2 separate regions of the Homo sapiens genome follow, and region 2 is linked to region 1. Evidence: promoter capture Hi-C in 16 types of primary human blood cells and fetal thymus (Javierre and others, 2016). All regions are on one chromosome and are shown on one strand. The core of a region is centred on a gene start or on the middle of the fragment in contact, and the rest is flanking DNA. Distances in the headings are between cores, read along the strand shown. Region 1 holds the start of H3-3B (H3.3 histone B). Region 2 overlaps UBALD2 (UBA like domain containing 2).

The links. Contacts are between HindIII fragments. The CHiCAGO score rates a contact against its expected background, and 5 or more counts as called.
Region 2: a fragment that was not itself captured here is called in contact with the fragment with the promoter of H3-3B in region 1 in 1 of 17 cell types (fetal thymus); the score reaches 7.4 in fetal thymus.

Annotation. Positions count from the first base shown.
Region 1 is chr17:75,778,095-75,781,655 of GRCh38, reverse strand. It overlaps H3-3B (H3.3 histone B), which reads left to right and starts at 1,877. Exons shown (of 4, transcript NM_005324.5): 1 at 1,877-1,999; 2 at 2,472-2,609; 3 at 2,693-2,846; 4 at 2,933-3,561. The coding sequence starts at 2,482. The coding sequence ends at 3,061. RefSeq lists a silencer at 2,287-2,556 and an enhancer at 2,185-2,789. The HindIII fragment of the contact is 7,034 bases long and covers 1-3,561 here.
Region 2 is chr17:76,266,424-76,269,984 of GRCh38, reverse strand. The region is part of intron 2 of UBALD2 (UBA like domain containing 2); the gene reads right to left. Among named protein-coding and RNA genes, the nearest start is that of UBALD2, 2.9 kb to the right of the region's middle. RefSeq lists an enhancer at 1,625-1,854. The HindIII fragment of the contact is 189 bases long and covers 1,689-1,877 here.

The DNA.
Region 1 (3,561 bases), core at 628-3,127:
GATCGCGCCACTGCACTCCAGCCTGGCAGCAGAGCAAGAGTCCGTCTCAAAAAAAAAAAAAAAAAAATTAAGAAGGCTGAAATAATAACAGGAATTTGATACCAGAGATTGAGATGAAGCTGAGCTAGTTTTTCAAAGTGTGCATTTTTTTCTCATTGTTTGATACTTGACCACTGGTGTGACAAGTCAATATTGAGGTATTTGTACTTACGTACTGTAATTCTCTGAAGGTCAGGCATGGTGGCTCATGCCTGTAATCCTAGCACTTTGGGAGGCTGGGGCAGAAGGATTGCTTGAGTCCAGGAGGTCAAAACTGCAGTGAGCCGTGGTCACTGCACCACTGCACTCTAGCATGGGTGACTGGGCAAGACCCCACTTCAAAAAAAAAAAAAATTACCGGCCAGGGGCGGTGGCCCATGCCTGTAATCCCAGCACTTTGGGAGGCCAAGGCGGGTGGATCACAAGGTCAGGAGATCAAGACCATCTTGGCTAACACGGTGAAACCCCGTCTCTACTAAAAATACAAAAAAATTAGCCGGGCGTGGTGGCAGGCGCCTGTAGTCCCAGCTACTCGGAGGCTGAGTCAGGAGAATGGTGTGAACCCAGGAGGCGGAGCTTGCAGTGAGCTGAGATCGTGCCACTGCACACCAGCCTGGGCGACAGAGTCAGACTCCGTCTCAAAAAAAAAAATTAATTTAGTTGAAACCTATGCATACCTGTATCTGCTACTTTTTCTTTTAATAGTTTAGAATATTTGCTGGACCAGCATCAGAACTATAGAGTAGAATGCCCAAGGCTCTATTTCAATTTTCTGGGCTTTGCTTGGCTAGTCTTAACCTTAAGCCTGCTATGGTATTTTATATACTTGAGGCAACTGAAGAACTGACTATTACAATCTACCCAAGACATTTACTTAGGCAAAGGTAGGGATTAGCATATTTACACATTTGTCATGTTTCTTCAGAAGTAATACCTGCCAGGATATGCTATTAAACAAAAGGGCACATATCTAGTTTAGTTATCTTTTGTTTATTCTTTATGGACATGCAAATACTATAGTAGGACTATTTACTTTCTAGCTGTAGTCATTTCATTCACTTGAAGTACATAATTCAAGTAACATGTTGCTTAGTAAGTTACCTCTTGTTTAAGCATATGGAAATCAAAAAATATTTTGTGACACCTTAAAAACATACAAAACAGTTCCTCTAAAATAATTTATTAACATGTTTATTTGTATTTATTATTTACCCCTTCCCACCCCACCAAGAGACCTGCTTTTTGTTAAAAATGTATGTGCATGATATATGAAATACTTGATAATATAACATGATTTACTGAATTCTAATTCTCACACTACGCACTTAACTATCAAAATATTATGAAAGGTAAATAATCCAGGGAACACATTTTATTTTACATCGGAAAATATTTACAAAAATTTTGTTAAAGTAGCCTCTCTGGGTGCATAGCATTCGCTTGATGCCTGTGAGTTTAGACTCCTGCTCATTCTGATAGAGACCAATGCAATTCATTTGCATTGACTTTCTATTGCAGAGCTTTGGAACCAAGGGAAGGATCCAAACATAGCTCCATTTTATCCAATCAGAAGGGCCGCTTAGTGCTAAACTCTGATTCGTCCATTCCTCTTTGCATCCATCCAATCATTAGGCCACTTTAACAGCCAATCAGCGGCGTAGATATGCACCAATCATGGAACAGTGCCGAAGCACGGCCTTTGTGTCGGGGGATGTCAGCGCGTCGGCGAAAGCGCCCACCAATAGAAAAAGTCGTTGGTGTATGCAAATAAGGGTTCTATGACGCAGAGACGCAGCGTGAAGCGTGCCTATAAAAACGGAGGCGACGCGGGGGCTTGGAGCGCAGAGCGGTTTGGTCGTTCGTTGGGCGGTGCTGGTTTTTCGCTCGTCGACTGCGGCTCTTCCTCGGGCAGCGGAAGCGGCGCGGCGGTCGGAGAAGTGGCCTAAAACTTCGGCGTTGGGTAGGCGTTCGTAGGTTTACCCGCGGCTTCAGGTTCTGCCAACCGTTGGCGCCGCGCGCCGCGGCCGTTGGGAGCCGAGCGGCGGGGGCTGCTCGGGCCGCTGGCGTCGGGTCGGGTATGGGGCCGGGAGGTTTCCCCTTGGGGCTTTGTTCCGGAACTGTGTCCCCGCCTTTTCCCGGCGGTGATTCAGAGGTCCCGACGCCGGGTTCCGGGCAGTCGGGCCTCCGCCCGTCGAGGAAGGGAAGTGACTCCTCCCCGCGCTCCCCCTCCCGGGGGAGGCTGCCGCTCCTCGCAGCCTGAGTCATTAGGGGAGGGGGAGGAGGTTGGCGGCCCTCGGCCATCTGCTGCCGCGAGGTGGGGCGCGGGGAGGCGGGAGGCCCGGCGGTGGGGCCAGGATCTGTTCCTCCCCCCGCAGCCCTGGGGGGCGGCCCGGGTGAGCGCGGCGGCCTTATCTTCGGGGCGTCTTTCTTAGGTGAAAGAAAATGGCCCGAACCAAGCAGACTGCTCGTAAGTCCACCGGTGGGAAAGCCCCCCGCAAACAGCTGGCCACGAAAGCCGCCAGGAAAAGCGCTCCCTCTACCGGCGGGGTGAAGAAGCCTCATCGCTACAGGTAGGTCGGGCGGGGGAACAATGGCCCGGCGGTGGCCGGCTTTGTGCGGCAGCGTCCGCTCACTCCTCCCCTGCTCGCTGCAGGCCCGGGACCGTGGCGCTTCGAGAGATTCGTCGTTATCAGAAGTCGACCGAGCTGCTCATCCGGAAGCTGCCCTTCCAGAGGTTGGTGAGGGAGATCGCGCAGGATTTCAAAACCGACCTGAGGTTTCAGAGCGCAGCCATCGGTGCGCTGCAGGTAAGACAAAGGCCTGGAGCCGGGGGAGGGCTGGGCGGTTTCCGCTCCCCGAGTGGGATTAATAGTGCGGCTCTCGTCCTCAACAGGAGGCTAGCGAAGCGTACCTGGTGGGTCTGTTCGAAGATACCAACCTGTGTGCCATCCACGCTAAGAGAGTCACCATCATGCCCAAAGACATCCAGTTGGCTCGCCGGATACGGGGAGAGAGAGCTTAAGTGAAGGCAGTTTTTATGGCGTTTTGTAGTAAATTCTGTAAAATACTTTGGTTTAATTTGTGACTTTTTTTGTAAGAAATTGTTTATAATATGTTGCATTTGTACTTAAGTCATTCCATCTTTCACTCAGGATGAATGCGAAAAGTGACTGTTCACAGACCTCAGTGATGTGAGCACTGTTGCTCAGGAGTGACAAGTTGCTAATATGCAGAAGGGATGGGTGATACTTCTTGCTTCTCATGATGCATGTTTCTGTATGTTAATGACTTGTTGGGTAGCTATTAAGGTACTAGAGTTGATAAATGTGTACAGGGTCCTTTTGCAATAAAACTGGTTATGACTTGATCCAAGTGTTTAACAATTGGGGCTGTTAAGTCTGACCATACATCACTGTGATAGAATGTGGGCTTTTTCAAGGGTGAAGATACAAGTCTTAACCACAGTGTAACTTACAGTTTCCTTTAAAAAAAAAAAAAGTAAACCTGGCAGCTATAGAATAC
Region 2 (3,561 bases), core at 534-3,033, 490 kb before region 1:
GGGGTTTCATGAGGCCTGGAAATGACACCCCGAGGAGCATTCAAAGTAAATGGTTAATTGCACCCAGGAGCTAAGGTGTCAGATTAAAGTGAAAGGGCAAGGGGGCAGCCCAGGACACCACTGTTCCGCACCTTCCCTGGGCAGGGAGACCAGCTGACTGCCCCACCAGCCACCCTCAGATGCTCCCAGGCTGCTAGGCAAGGGAGAGCGGCCAGCGGGGAGGCTCTCCCTCCTGTGCCAACCCTGGAAAAGTTAAGCCACCTTGGTGGATGGGTTCACACCACACTAAGGGTGACAGCCACCAGGCCTTGAAGGCTTTGCCTCCCTTAACAATGACACTTAGTGGCTTCAATTATCCTCTCTTTATGACAAATGAGGAAACTGAGGCCCAGAAGTCAAGTCACTTGCCCGAAAATGCACCCACAGCAGAGGGCAAGTTGAGAAGACGGACCTCCCCAGCTCCCAAGTCTGCAGGCCCAAGCTCTTAACATCTACTGGGCCACGCTGCACAGAGTCAAGAGCCCCTTTATATCTGGGCCCCTTGAGGACACAAACCAGGGATTTCAATGTCCTGTGTCTGTAGCCTCAGGCCACAAACACAGCTGGCCTGCCCTTGCCTGCAGGCTGGCAGTTTCTCAGTCTGTCCAGCCCCTCAGTCCTCTTCCTGGGGGTAGCTACAGTCCCCCATCTGCTGTCTTCTGTCACTACCCTGGGGGCAGGGGCTGGAGTGCCATCCAGGAGCACCTCGTCAGCAGCATGGGCAAGAGGCAACACAGAGAACAAGACCACACAAAACTGGCTGGGACCTCAAAGCTGCTTTCTCCCTTTCCCAGGAAGCCACAGGAGTCCTTCTTTGAATTTCTCCTAATTTTAGCAACACTGGCCCCTCCCCCAGGCGCAGGAGTTGGGGGAACGACTTGAGGGCTCTTCACCTTGAAAGAGGGAGCTTTGGCAGGGCGCAGTGGCTCACGTCTGTAATCCCAGCACTTTGGGAGGCCGAGGCGGGTGGATCACCTGAGGTTAGGAGTTCGAGACCAGCCTGACCAACATGGTGAAACCCTGTCTCTATTAAAAAATACAAAAATTAGCTGGGTGTGGTGATGGGCGTCTATAATCCCAGCTACTTGGGAGGTTGAGGCCGGAGAATCACTTGAACCCGGGAGGTGGAGGTTGTAGTGAGCTGAGATCACGTCACTGCACTCCAGCCTAGGTGGCAGAGCAAAACTCCGTCTCAAAAAAAAAAAAAAAAAAAACAGAGGGAGCTTTCACAGCTAGAAACCGGAGGTTGTGTAGGGGGTGTGTAACATACATGGAATGGGGACACTAGCACACCCTGTCCATTGAGCCCCACACCATGTCAGCACCCAGGGCACCAAGGGAGCTCTGACCCTTGCCTTTCTAGGGGTCCTCAGGGGGAGGCCAAAGGACCCAATGCAGAGGCCTGGCCCCACCCAGACCTTTCCCCTCCTCCCTCCACTACTCCCTGCCCCCCCCCCACCCTCTGGGGATGACTTCTCGGCAGCAGGAAACAATGAATGAAGGGTGGGGGTGGAGGCCAATTGCATCACAGCATCGTGACCGACTTCCCCAGTTCCCCGCCAGCCAGCGAGGCCTGTCTCCTCAAACAGCCGCCAGAGAACAGCAGGGATGATGGCTGGCAGGCCTGTGGTGGCCTGCCTGTGTAAGCTTGGGCAAGTTCCTGAACCTCTCTGGAGCTTCTCTCTGCTTTTGTAAAATGAGGGTTTTGAACCAGATATGCCCTCTCGGCCAGTTCTCAAGAAAACCCATTGTCCCCTGTACCTTTGTCCTCCCACTTCAAGTCTGTAGTGCCTTTCTCCACTTCCAACTGGGAAGCCCTCCTTATCAACTGGGAAGCTTCCAACTATGGGAATCTACAGTAATGTACGGGACAACCATTTATCAGTTACTCATGACTTCTGGTTTTGCCATTTTGCTGTTACTGGTCTCTAGTGTTTCGTTTTTTGATCTTTTTCCTTTGACTTACTTTGTCCAAAATAAATTGCCAGGCCGGGTGCAGTGGCTCACGCCTGTAATCCCTGAACTTTGGGAGGCCGAGGCAGGCGGACCACCTGAGGTTGGGAGTTCGAGACCAGCCTGATCAACATGGAGAAACCCCGTCTCTACTAAAAATACAAAATTAGCCAGGTGTGGGATTACAGGTGGCACGTGCCTGTAATCCCATGAGGCAGGAGAATCGTTTGAACCCAGGAGGTGAAGGTTGCGGTGAGCCGAGATCACACCATTGCACTCCGCCTAGGCAATAAGAGTGAAACTCTGTCTCAAAAAAAAAAAAAAAGAAAAGAAATTGCCAGCTGGGTGCAGTGGCTCACACCTATAATCCCAGCACTTCGGGAGGCTGAGGCGGAAGGATAGCTTGAGGCCAGGAGTTCAAGACCAGCTTGGGCCACATAGAGACTCCCCCTGCCCTGGCCTTTCTCAAAAATAAAATTAGAAAAAAAAAAAAAAAAAAAAAGAAACCATGAACTTTTTGAGAGCAGGGATGGTGTCCTCCACTGTGCTGCTAAGGCACTCAGACTTGGGCACTGATGGACACACTGGTTATGTGTGTTACAAAACCTGCTGCCTTCCTTGAGGGAAGCTTCAAAAGAGACTTAGCATCTCCTTGGGATTTGCAGAGGAGGGGCAATAGGAACTAAACAGGATGCCAGACCAGCTCTTCCTGGGGAGCCTCCCTGTTCTCAGCCCCTCAGAATGGCTGTAGTATCTGGAAGTTCTGAGTTTTTTGGGATGGCCACAGCTGGTGGAAGGAAATCTCAAGGATCCGGTGACAGGAGATGGCAGGAAGCTTCGAGACTCAAGCATAGGCGGGTGCTGGCCATTTCTCCTGGTCAAGTGCAGGGGACGGTGTCCCCTGGAGATGAAACCCTCTTGGGTTTCTAAGAGCCCTGTGGCCAGCACCATGCTCCCATCATACTCAAATGCCATTTTGGCTTGATTTATATACAGCATCAGCCATTCTGAGAAAAACTAGCTAACAAGGTCAAGACAGACCCCTCTACTTGTCCTCTGTGACTAGATGAAAACAGAGAGCCAAAGGCAAGGGCACCAAGTGTTAAAAATCCCAAAAATGCACCTAGAGTCCACAACAGCTCTCCTGGGGAACAATGTTTTAAGATCCCTATCGCTGAGCCCTGCCCCTCCTCCCCCAGCAGGGCTAATAGGTAACTAGGGGGGTAGGGTACAGGAGAGATGTCCTGGGCCTCAAGAAAGCAGAGTACCCCATGGCCAGGAGGGCAAAAGCTTGGGCCTGGGCTAGAATGAAAAAGAAAGCAAATCCAGACCCCGGACCACTTCTCTGTGTGCTGGGCTGGTGGAGCTCAACACAGAGATTAAAGACACATTCCTGGCCTTATCTTGGGTCAAAATCTGTGTGTCCTCCTGGCTTGGGGGATGTATGTCCTTCCAACTTCCCAGTCCCCTTGGGCTTCGGAAGGTTGAACAGATCTTTGTGGGTAGAGCCCGGCTTCCTGAGCCAGGGTGGATTCATGCCTTTCCTGTTCCCTGTAGCGCTGGGTGTGT